Linked DNA regions of Homo sapiens: region 2 is linked to region 1. Evidence: promoter capture Hi-C in 16 types of primary human blood cells and fetal thymus (Javierre and others, 2016). All regions are on one chromosome and are shown on one strand. The core of a region is centred on a gene start or on the middle of the fragment in contact, and the rest is flanking DNA. Distances in the headings are between cores, read along the strand shown.

Region 1 (6,827 bases), core at 541-3,040:
GACACAGTGCAGACATGGCATAAGGAATGTGTGAACGGGAGAGTTAGCATGTTTGCTTGGCTAGAGCTGAAAATCCAGGCTAGGGAGAAAGAAGACATTAGTTTACTTAGGAAATGAAAAACCAAGTTCAAAGCTATTGCTGGAGAGTCTTCAAGAATCAGATATAAAATTTGTCACAACAATGGGAGAAGGACCAAAAAATGATAAACCCCCGTCCCTTAATAAGCTCGTATTGTAATTGTAGAAATGACATTAATGTACACTGAACTATGAATAAAAAATAGAAAATGAGGTGCTAAATATTTGGTACAGATTGTAAGTACCTTAACAGAGATTTCTTAATTAACATTATTCCTTTATAATTGAGGGATTTTGTGGGGTTATTGGGATTTGAACTCTACAGCATGGGCTATTATAGGTTAAAAATAGTGTTCAGGAGTTTCTGGGGAAGAACTAAAGGTAAGAAGAAAAGAGATGTTTACAGAAGGGATAGAATTAACAGCTCTGTGAAATAATTTTCCCTTAGACTATGTATAACTAGTGGATATTTAAGAAAAATGAATATAAGTAAAATAGACTTAGCGATATATAAATATCATAACATACCACAACAGAGCATTGTCCACCCCCACAACTTGAAGATGTTCCATAAGTCCCTCTGGGTGCTCTGACATTTCCATGGAAATATCTGCAAATGAAATACAAAATTATATTTAGATGTATACTCTTAAACCACACATTTATAGCCTTTGAGGTGGTGCTTACAACTTTCTTAATAATCAGAATAAAACACATATGTCTACTAACCCTGTCTGAGGTAACAGGTTTCTCAGACATAGATGAAAAATTACTTCAAATTTACATCAGAACTGATGCACAGTTTTGTTTTGTTCTATTTTATTTTTACGCTTTAGTCTCAAGTTGCTAATCGGTACTGCCCTGAATTTTTTCTATGGTTTGGTAATTTTTATACCTGCTTTTCTGCTGAGCTATTAGATAAAACTATTTAATATTTACTATGTATATTTTTTAAAGTATTGTTGCTGCTTAATTAACTATTGATGCTTATATTTAATGTTATAGCCTCACTCTTGATCATAATGGGTCAATGCCTCAAATACCTAAAAAAAAAAAAAATTAGATAGCCAGACACCAGGAAAGAAAAGTATTTCTTTTTTTAATAAAAAGAAATACCTTTTTGAGCAACTGAAATGACAAAGTCACAAATTTCCTGCACACCTTAAAATATACTTAATGTAAATGACGAGTTAATGGGTGCAGCACACCAACATGGCACATGTATACATGTGTGACAAACCTGTATGTTGTGCACATGTACCCTAGAACTTAAAGTATAATTTTAAAAAAATTCTATCTTCCAAAGCATATCACTTCTCAGGTAGACACAGTGTTTATTGCAAAAGATCTGATTTCAATAGTATTTCTTCAAGAGTCTCCCCAGAGACAAAGTCAAGAAGAGGAAATCAGCATATCTGAGAAGAAAGATTTCAGGATCACTTTTTTTGAGGGTCTGAGAAAATGTTTAGTTTCTATATTATTTAAAACCAGAATTGAAATGGGGTGATTCCTATCCTTGCCACCTGCCTCTACAACCCCAAGAGTTTCTATCTGAGCATCTAAACGTCTTTTAGGCTGAAAGGCTCACCATGGCTTTGCTTGGTCCTTCTCTAGTTCTTCTGCAGCCCATTGAGCCTCTTGACTTAGCACAAGGGTCTCAGGTCCTTGCCCAAAGGGAGTGTGCTGTGCTGCAGGTAGACTGCACTGAATGTCAACAGAAAGCCTTGCTTTCTTTCATTTCTCTAACCCAGTCTCACATCCTCCTCCTCCTCCCCTTTTCCCTCCCCTTCCTCCTGCACTTCTCTTTCCTCTTTCCCCACCCCTTTCCTAGACTGGCCTCTATTGCCTCCCACTGAGACAAAAATGAACTGCTGATCAGAAAGTAATGTGACTAGATTCTCTCTTCCTTCCCTCCTTTCTATCCTTCCTTCCATTCTCCTATGCATCTTTCCTTACCCTCCTCCTCCTTCACTCATTGTTGTTGCTGTTCTTCTTCCTCTTCTTTTTCCTCCTGCTCCTCTTCTTCTACTTGTTCTTGTTCTTGTTTTTGTTTGGTTCTTGTTCTCCTCTTCCTCCTTCTCTCTCTCCTCCTCCTCCTTCTTTTCCACCACCCTCCCCTATCTTTTTCATAAATGCTAAACTAACTCTTGGCTACCTGTGGTAAATGGCCCTTGGAAATTGCAAATACTACAAATCAAAACTGCATTTCAGACATATTTATGATGTTTGCAAAACTTCAGTAGAGCTAAGCAGTGGACTTGACTCGTTTCGGTTCCTTCACCTCCGTCTTTCCTTGCTCACCACCTAGTGGACGTCCTTGTTAGTGGCACTTCCTGAAGTTAACCCCTGAAGAGAGCCCATGCTCTCTAGCTTTTCACCGTGTAGGTTTGGGAGCCTACAAGTACCTTTAATATTCTTGGACTATAAAATGAGATGGTTTTATAAGACTGCATGTGAAATTAGGACCCATATGATGAAGGACAATAAAAAGGAAGACCCACTGATGTGAGTCAATGAGTCAAATGCAAATCAGATTTGCATTTTTAGGAAAATAATAATAACAACAACAAAAACTCTGAAGCTCAGCGCCCCATATTTATTATATTGTTTAATCTTTATAACAGCTCTCTGCTATAGATATGATTATTATCCCCATTCTAAAGAGTCTCAAAGAGGTTAAGAAACAAATTCAAAAACTAGCGAAAGACAAGAAATAACTAAGATCAGAGCAGAACCATAGGAGGTAGAGACACGAAAAAGCCTTCAAAAAATCAATAAATCCAGGAGCTGCATTTTGAAAAGATTAACAAAATAGATGGACCACTAGCTAGACTAATAAGAAAGAAGAATCAATAGACACAATAAAAAATGGTAAAGGGGATATTACCACTGATCCCGTAGAAATACAAACTACCATCAGAGATTACTATAAACATCTTTACACAAATAAACTAGAAAATCTAGAAGAAATGGATAAATTCCTGGACACATACACCCTCCCAAGACTAAACCAGGAAGAAGTCAAATCCCTGAATAGACTAATAACAAGTTCTGAAATTAAGGCAGCAATTAATAGCCTACCAACTAAAAAAAGCCCAGGACCAGATGGATTCACAGCCAAATTCTACCAGAGGTACAAAGAGGTGCTGGTACCATTCCTTCTGAAACTATTCCAGAGAATAGAAAAAGAGGAACTCCTCCCTCACTCATTTTATGAGGCCAGCATCATCCTGATACTAAAACCTGGCAGAGACACAACAAAAAAAGAAAATTTCAGGCCAATATCCCTGATGAACATCATTGCGAAAATACTCAATAAAATACGGCAAACTGAATCCAGCAGCACATCAAAAAGCTTATCAACCACAATCAAGTTGGCTTCATCCCTGGAATGCAAGGCTGGTTCAACATACACAAATCAATAAACAGAATCCATTACGTAAACAGAACCAATCACAAAAACCACGTGATTATCTCAATAGATGCAGAAAAGGCCTTGGATAAAATTCAACACCCCTTCATGCTAAAAACTCTCAATAAACTAGGTATTGATGGAACGTATCTCAAAATAATAAGAGCTATTTATGACAAACCCACAGCCAATAGCATACTGAATGGGCAAAAACTGAAAGCGTTCCCTTTAAAAACTGGCACAAGACAAGTATGCCTCTCTCACCACTCCTGTTCAACATAGTATTGGAAGTTCTGGCCAGGGCAATCAGGCAAGAGAAAGAAATAAAGTGTATTCAAATAGAAGAGAGGAAGTCAAATTGTGTCTGTTTGCAGATGACATGATTGTATATTTAGAAAATCCCATTGTCTCAGCCCAAAATCTCCTTAAACTGATCAGCAACTTCAGCAAAGTCTCAGGTTACAAAATCAATGTGAAAAAATCACAAGAATTCCTATACAGCAATAATAGACAAACAGAGAGCCAAATCATGAGTGAACTCCCATTCACGATTGCTACAAAGAGAATAAAATACCTAGGAATCCAACTTACAAGGAATGTGAAGGACCTATTCAAGGAGAACTACAAACCACTGCTCAAGGAAATAAGAGAGGACACAAATGAATGGAAAAACATTCCATGCTCATGGGTAGGAAGAATCAATATCATGAAAATGACCATACTGCCCAAGGTAATTTATAGATTCAGTGCTATCCCCATCAAGCTACTACTGACTTTTTTCACAGAATTAGAAAAAAACTACTTTAAATTTCATATGGAACCAAAAAAGAGCTTGTATAGCCAAGACAATCCTAAGCAAAAAGAACAAAGCTGGAGGCATCATGCTACCTGACTTCAAACTATACTACAAGGCTATAGTAACCAAAACAGCATGGTGCTGGTACAAAAACAGATATATGGACCAACGGAACAGAACAGAGGCATCAGAAATAACACCACACATCTACAACCATCTGATCTTTGACAAAGCTGACAAAAAGAAGCAATTGGGAAAGGATTCCCCATTTAATAAATGATGTTGGGAAAACTGGCTAGCCATATGCAGAAAACTGAAACTGGATCCCTTCCTTACACCTTATATAAAAATTAACTCAAGATGGATTAAAGACTTAAATGGAAGACCTAAAACCATAAAAATTCTAGGAGAAAACCTAGGCAATACCATTCAGGACGTAGGTATGGGCAAAGACTTCATGACTAAAACACCAAAAGCAACAGCAACAAAAGCCAAAATTGACAAATGGGATCTAATTAAACTAAAGAGCTTCTGCACAGTAGAAAAAAAAAAACTATCATCAAAGTGAACAGGAAACCTACAGAATGGGAGAAAATTTTTGCAATCTATTCACCTGACAAAGGGCTAATATCCAAAATCTACAAGAAACTTAAACAAATTTACAAGAAAAAACAAACAACACCATCAAAAAGTGAGTGAAGGATATGAACAGATGCTTCTCAAAAGAAGAAGTTTATGCAGTCAACAAACATATGAAAAAAAGCTCATCATCACTGGTCATTAGAGAAATGCAAATCAAAACCACAATGAGATGCCATCTCATGCCAGTTAGAATGGCGATTATTAAAAAGTCAGGAAACAACAGATGCTGGAGAGGATGTGGAGAAATAAGAATGCTTTTTACAGTGTTGGTGGAAGTGTAAATTAGTTCAATCATTGTGGAAGACAATGTGGCGATTTCTCAAGGATCTATAACTAGAAAAACCATTTGACCCAGCAATCCCATTACTGGGTATATACCCAAAGGATTATAAATCATTCTACGATAAAGACACATGCACACTTATGTTTATTGAGGCACTATTCACAACAGCAAAGAGTTGGAACCAACCCAAATGCCCACCAATGATAAACTGGATAAAGATGATGTGGCACATATACATCATGGAATACTATACAGCCATAAAAAAGGATGAGTTCATGTCCTTTGCAGGGACATGGATGAAGCTGGAAACCGTCATTCTCAGCAAACTAACACTGGAACAGAAAACCAAACATTACCCATTCTCACTCATAAGTGGGAGTTGAACAATGAGAACACATGGACACAGGGAGGGGAACATCACACACTGGGGCATGTCAGGGGATGTGGGGCTAGGGGAGGAACAGCATTAGGAGAAATACCTAATGTAGATGACAGGTTGATGAATGCAGCAAACCACCATGGCACATGTATACCTATGTAACAAACCTGCACGTTCTGCTCATGTATCCCAGAAATTAAAGTATAATTTAAAAAAAGTTTAAAAAAAGAAAGTTGCCTTAGTCACATAACTAGTAAGAGACATGGTTGGGAATTTGAACAGAGGCCAATCAGTTCCAAATCCATGCTCTTGATCATTAAGCTGAACTTATGGCAGGAACTTGGAAGACATGGTAAAATGGGGAAAAACGTGGAGCCAGGGAGACTTGTGAAAGTGCCAGTGCTCCCACTATACCCTGAAAGAAGTATCTAGACTTACTTTTTTCTAAGTCCTCTCCTCTAATTCTCTCAATCTCTCTCTCTCTTTCTCTAAGAGATGGGAATGCTGCTCTGTCACTCAGGCTAGAGTGCAGTGGTGCGATCATAGCTCATTGCACTCAAGGAATCCTAGGGTCTAGTGCCCCTTCTCCCTCAGCCTCCCATGTAGCTAAGACTACAGGCACATGCCCCAACCCTCGACTAATTTTTTTATTTTTTATTTTTGTAGAGACAGGATCTCACTATGTTGCTCAGGCTGTAATTCTGTCTTGAAGCTTGTCCAATCAGGCTTTCAGCCACACCAATTCCCTGAGACTGCTCTCACCAAGGTCCTACACTTCACTAACACAAACAGCCTATTCTCCATCCTCATCTTACTTCACCAGGGAGCTCCTGGTTTTCCTCCTACTTCACTGGCTATTTCTTCTGTATCATGTGTTGATTCTCCCTCATCTCCCCAACCTCCAAACCCTTGGAGTACTCCAGAGATCACCGCTTTGCTCTTCTGTGTCTAACCTCACTAACTTGGTGGTCCAATTCACACTCTTGACTTTGAATACCATTTAAATGCGAACGAATTCTAAATTCTGTACAACCAGAACCATTCTCCTGTAGCCAAATGCCTACTCAACATCTCCATCCCCAAACAAATTTAGTTGTTCAATAAGCCTCTCATATTTTACATATCCCAAACTGAACTTCTGAATTTCTCCTCCAATCTGTAGGGCTCTTCCCACAGCCTTTCCATCTCAGTGGATTATAACTCCATCCTTCCAGTTACTCAGACCAAAACTTTTGGA
Region 2 (6,661 bases), core at 2,783-5,282, 340 kb before region 1:
ATTTCTAGGTTGTTCAGCAGAAGTCTTGGAGTGCATTTTCAGTGGTTAAGGTGAAAAAATGACTACTAAAAATTTAGAAACCAAAGGTAAGTGGCTTTTTTATAATTGTTTTTAAAACATGACATTTATGACGATGTGAAGGAACGTTTGAGCCAGATAACTAGATCTCATGGACCCCCTTGGGAATCATTTGTTATTTCAGATCCCTTTATGTTTATTTTTTAGTGCAGTGTTTATATTTCAGTACTTTAGATGTACAAGTGAAATTTAACATCATTAGTTAGAATTTATTAGGTGACTACTCTTAAACATTTAATGTTAATGCAAAGTTTTTAACAGCTATATTCCCTATACACTAGAAGATTACGATTTAAATAAGAATACACATTTTAAAGATTTAAGTAGATAGACAAAGCAACTAGGGTGTATCAAAGATCTCTTTCATGTTGTATTAGTTTGCTGGGGTTGCTGTAACAAAGTACCACAAACTGCATGGCTTGAACAACAAAATGTATTCTCTCAGTTCTGGAGGCTAGAAGTCCAAGATGAAAATGTCAACAAGGCTGTGCTCCTTCGGAAGGCATTAGAGACACTCTCCTAGCTTCCAGTGGCTTGCTGGCAGTCTTTGGTGCTCCTTGTCTTGTAGACGTACCACCCTTATCTCCGCCTTCATATTCACATGGCATTCTCCCTATGTGCATGTTTCTGTGTCTAAATTTACCCTTTTTATAAAGACAGCAGTCATATTGAAAAAAGGAACCCAGTCTACTCCTGTATGATTTCATCTTAACTAATTACATCTGCAGTGATCCTGTTTCCAAATGAAGTCTCATTCTGAGGTAGTGGGGGGTTAGTACTTCAACAAATAAAGATTTGGGGGACACAATTCAACCCCTAAATTGCTAAATACAGTAGTCACTTTTTAGTCCTAGCTGATTTGTCCTCTCTAATATTTAATACTGTTGACCATTCCCTGCCTTTTGAGATACGTTCTTTTGATGACTTCCATGACATCACTTTTATTTTCAGTCTACTCTGTAGCCTTTCACTGTCCAATGCGGTAATTACATGTGGCTATTTGAATTTAAATTAATATTTTTTAAAAATTAAAAATTCAGTTTCTCAATGACGCTTGCCAAACTTCAAGTGGTCGGTAGGCAAATATGGCGAGTAGCTATTTCAATCATTGAAGAAAATTCTGTTGGACAGCCCTGCTGTAGCTGTATCTTCTCTCTTTCTTTTTCAGCCTCTTCTCCTTCTTATTTATCTTTTAAATATCAACACTTTCCACCACTGTTTCTTTTCTACTCTCATGACTTCAGTAATTATCTATATAAATGACTTCCAAATCTATCTATATCCCTAATCTCCTTCTTTATGATTCATACCCTTATAGACTACTGCCTACTGGCCATCTTCACATAGCTGTAGGCAACAATTTTAACATGTCCCATAGTGAACTTCTCCTGACCCAGCTTATTCTTTGGATGGGTTGAGTTCTGCATGCTAGAACCATCAGTTAAAGATGGAAAACTGTTTTCTAGATGCCAATTTTTCAGCAAACTGACCTCCAGCCACAAACCCTCTCTAAAAGCAGGTTGAAATAAGTTTAAGAAACAAGGAAGAAAGATCATGCTAATAAATATTTAATTGAATTTAATTCAGCTTTGCAACAGCATTTCATAAGTCACCAGAAGGCTTTTATACCATTAGATAAGCAAGTCAGAGACTGTAATGAAAGTAATAAACTGGGGATTAATGGGAAATAAGAGCAGTTAAATAATTAATGTGAAAGCAACCAACATGGTGCTTGTCAAAAAGCAAAAACTAAATACAATATTATGATTAGTCATTAGAAGTACTGGCAAGTTCTCTGTGAAATTAAATTACTTTTTAATATTTATTATTACTTGTTTTTAATGAGGATTAGAGTTATAAGGCACTTTAACAAACATTATTTTGTGTGATCTTAATTATCCAGTAAGGAAAATAATTCTATTAGCCATATTTCTATTTAATCTGTCATCTGATGTTAGTGAACAAAAGTTACTTGTATTGCATGGCCTGTGAAAAGGTGTACTTGGTTGACATTTGTCAGTTGTCTGTGCTTCCTGTAACTGCCTCAGGAGATAAGTACGGTTGTTTGGTATAGCAACAGAACTTCCTCTCAGAAGACATTTGAGCAGCACTGTCATCATAAGAGGGTTGTATCATGGCTGCTAGTGCTGTTTCTGAAAGGGAAACATACAGTAAATAGTAACAATTAGAAACTTAAAATCCAAAGCTTTTCTTGGATGTGGGATTAAAATTGAAAATAAAGCTATTAAAGTCAACTAGTTTAGTAATAGTAGACCAAATAGAAAGGTCTGAGACATTTAAATATTTTTGATTCCATAAAATAGTCTAACACTAGTTCTGTAGAATAATAGGTGTTAGGTAAAAAAGATATTCCATGAGCAGATAAATTTGATAAATGCTGTATTAAAAGAGAGGCTATACTATGGGACCTCTCAGAGTCCTATAGTATAACTTTAATACTAATGTACATTGAAACTCTGTAGAGATGCAGTATGCAACATTGCCCACACTTATTTGACCAGGGATCTCTATCCATAGAGCCTGTGGTAAGAAGAATGCTTAGATTCCACTTCAGTAAATCTCGATGTTACTCTTAAGTCCATTGTATGTAACTTATTTTACTAATTTAATAATAACTAAACTTTATTAGGTGATATGGGTGACATTTAAAAAGACTCTTGATTTAAAATTACCACATGACAATCCCTAATTTGTTTAACTGTATCATAGCTGAATTTGTATATGTTCTGGAAAGTCTTTCAGACTATAACCAAGTTAGGAATTAATGATTTAGGGTAGAGGAAAAAAAATAAAGCAGTTTTTAAATGGGTTAGTTTTTGGATGTTAAAAATGAAACACTCTAGGTAGTGTATTAACAGACTAATGAGCTTCAGTAAGCATTTATTCATTTTCTCTGTGACAAGGACCATTTTATTAGTTCATGACACAAAGATTAGGAGGCGGTCCATACCCTGAAGAGCTCCCAACAGTCTAGTCTACAAGAGAAACAAATTATTTTTAAAATATATACTACCATGTTTGCATTACTCTGAAAGCACCAAGGGATGGGAGGAGGATGAGGTTAAGTGCTTTGTCCAAGGTCACACAATACATGGCAGTAGGGACTTAAGTTATTTTAACTCAGGCTCTAGTGAGTTAGATTTCTTTTCACTACCCCATTCTGCTGACTTAGAGTACCTCTCATCATAGATTGAAGTTTTATGAATAAAAGAGAAATATTTGTTCAATGACAGACAATAAATTTTTTTTTGCCTCAATATTCTAGAGCAAGGGTTGGCAAATTGTGGCCCTCAGCCTCCTGAGAATATCTGCAATCAGTTTGATAATAGTGGACATTAACACTATTTAAGCCAAACATTATCCTGAATTAAAAAAAAATCTGTTCTTCCCATTATTAGACCTATGTTATCAAAAAATTGTTTTCAATTATTGTTGTTATAGTTTGAATTTCATCAATAAATTTTTTTTCTCTTATTAAATACTTACATGGTATCCTCAATTTTACCTTTTGGTTCACAAAGCCTAAAATATTTACTCTCTGGTCCTTTACAGAAAAAGTTTGCCAGCTCCCATCCTAGAATGTTAGACTAGTGACCTTCTTTGTTCTTTCCCTACATTTCACCAATCCTGGTAGGCAATACGAATGAGCAAACCTTAGATATGTTTTAATTCATTGATAATTGATCACAGGTGGAAGTAATGATGATGAATAATTTAAGGATTGTTTTGTTGGTTCCCTTCAAATAGTGGGGAAGAATAAGGATTGGTGTTTTTCTTGACTTAAGCGTTACTCATAATTATGGAGCTGTTACCATAGGTCCTTGTCTTCCCAATTGAGAGAAGGTAATTATTCGTAAATGTGTCCTGGATTGTGCCTACTGCATATGTAATAAAGGTTTCTAGGTATGTCACAAGGAAAAATCGAATTACGAAAGTTACCAGGTGAGAAAATGTTAAGCCCTGGCTCTTACGGCCTGTTTACCTATGCACATTAGCTAGAATCATAGTTATTACTGAGCGGGAGCTCTCACGTAATATATAATACAACTTTGATATTCATAAATGCTTGAGTAAGTAGAACAGTTTAAATAAAGTTAAGAGTAAATTGGGGTGGAAACAAGTTGGTTGAACTTCTTGATTTTCCAACAAGGTATTTTGTTCAAAAAGAGATTTCTGTTAAATACCTATTAATGGTTCTTTGCCTTTTAAATTTAACTTTAATCATTTTGTAATTTGTTCTTGAATCTCTGTTACTTAAAATTCCAACTCAAAAATGTTACAGCTTGCCTAGAAATTTTATTTGACCATAATGGAAGTATCACACCTGTTTTTTATTTCCTCAGCCTCAGTGGGCCTGAACCATGGCTGTAGTGCGTGTTTTTATTGTTGATGGTTTTTATTAATTTATAGTTAATACATGATTCTGTGTTACTTCTTAAATGCCAGAATGTCTTATTGACAAGATTAGACAAGTTAGTTAAGTTTAGACAAACTTAAAATCAGATTTTAAGAATACAGGTAGCTGGGTGTGATGGCTCACATCTGTAATCCAAGCACTTTGGGAGGCTGAGGCCAGAGAATTGCTTGAGCCTAGGATTTCAAGACCATTCTGGACAACATGATGAAACCCTGTCTCTACAAAAAAAAAAAAAAATACAAAAAAAATACAAAAAATTATTTGGTCATGGTGGCACATGCCTGTAGTCCCATCTACTTGGGAGGCTGAGGTGGGAGGATCACCTGAGCCCAGGAAGTCAAGGCTGCAGTAAGCTGTTTTTAAATGATTCAGTGGAAGTTCTCCTTGTCAGTGCTACCATGCTTTGTTTTAACTAATTTACCAAACCCAGCATGTTAGGCCTTTATTTCACTTTCTGAAGTATTCCTTTGTTTATCTTTTTAAAAGTAGAGTCAATCCCAAGGCCCAAGGGGTGTTTAAACTTAGTTTACATTTCATATGGAAATGACACGATTTTATTCTAATGTAAAATGTTTTGTAAAATAGAACACATTAATTATACCTCAGCTATGTTTCCACCTCCTGTCTAATTAACATAACTCGAGGTTCCCAGAACATTTCTACATGGGAAAAATTTGAAAAAAGTAAATCTGTTACTTGAATAAATAGTCCTATAGTCTAGCAATATAACTTTAAGATTTACATAACAGAATGAAAGTCAGAATTGTATTTTATGGCATTAAATAAATTAACTTTATTTCTGTCTATATCAACATCCAAAGTTTATTAGGAATTTATTTAAAGAATAATAAAAGCAATAGGACCTAACATTTAATGAGTGCTTACTGTGTCAAATACCATTCTAAACAGTTTACATGTATTCTTATTTATTTTTAAGTACAATATAAATCATAGGTATTGAGCATGCAAATAAATAAATAGTAAGGATATTAGGCATAGATCCACAGATACACTGGTAGAGTGATTTTCGAAGGCATTTCGGCCGTACAGATCTTCACCAAACCCATTAATTTTATGCTTGGGAATTTATTTGAAAAAATAACTCAGAAGTTAAGAAAAATATGTAGGCATAAAAGTGTTCAATAAAGCCTTATTTATTATAGTGAAAAATTGTAAAGAGTCTAAATATTCAACAGTAGAATAAGAAAGTAAATGCTATATTAACTTGAAGGGAATATATTCTAGCCATAAAATAAAAAATATGTTAAGCTTACGAAATTTATTACTGTTACAAGTATAAAAGGAATTCTGTTTTAAGTCTTTGTTTTAGGAGATTACATTACACACACACATATATATATAAAACATATATATAAAAAACATATATACATATAAAACATATATATATAAAACATATATATATATATATATATATATATATATATATATATGGTCTGGCTGGACAGTGATGAATTCACTGAAGACCAATCAGTAGTTCATGATTGTCCTTAATGTTTCTATAGACATAAAATTTCTATTGAAATATTTTTATACCACTTACCTGCACACTTATTATATATTATCCTGTAATACATTTTATCTTTTTATATGTATGTTCTGTCCCCTAAATTAGGTAGTAAATTTCTTAAGCATAGTGGTCTTACCTCATAGAATGTCTAGCCTTCATTAGGTACCCAGCATCATGTTTGCTGCCCGTGACCACTCAGAGTTCATCATTATAACCATTGTTACTGATCTGTGTGCTCGTCTTTTGTCCCTCCCCTTGTTATCATTCATTTATTGTTTATAACATATATACATATATATATATATACACACACACTACATGCAAGGCATTTTATTGGGAATACAGTGCACTCAAAATAAATTGAAAGCCACTAGAGGGAATGAGAGAACAATAAAAGAATTTGGGTATGATATGGTGAAAGTGAGGTATAAGGATGTTTAATCTGACAATCCAGTGTAGTTTCACTTGTGTAAGCAGGACATAAACTGTTAGGCCTAAGAATAGGATTGAATCTTTTCTTAATAAATTTTTCGGTGTAACATATATGTTGCTTCCTCTTACTCCAAGAGTTCACAAAACAGATGAATCTCTTATGATGTAGATGGTTTCAAATATGC

Evidence for each region. Contacts are between HindIII fragments. The CHiCAGO score rates a contact against its expected background, and 5 or more counts as called.
Region 2: a contact is called between a fragment that was not itself captured here and the fragment with the promoter of SELL in region 1, in 1 of 17 cell types (neutrophils). The highest score is 5.5, in neutrophils.

What each region holds. Positions count from the first base shown.
Region 1 is chr1:169,709,830-169,716,656 of GRCh38, forward strand. It overlaps SELL (selectin L), which reads right to left and starts at 1,791. Exons shown (of 9, transcript NM_000655.5): 1 at 1,667-1,791; 2 at 607-688. The coding sequence starts at 1,669. The HindIII fragment of the contact is 5,813 bases long and covers 1-3,431 here.
Region 2 is chr1:169,369,465-169,376,125 of GRCh38, forward strand. It overlaps BLZF1 (basic leucine zipper nuclear factor 1), which reads left to right. Exons shown (of 7, transcript NM_001320973.2): 2 at 9-86. The coding sequence starts at 59. Among named protein-coding and RNA genes, the nearest start is that of BLZF1, 4.6 kb to the left of the region's middle. The HindIII fragment of the contact is 3,501 bases long and covers 2,283-5,783 here.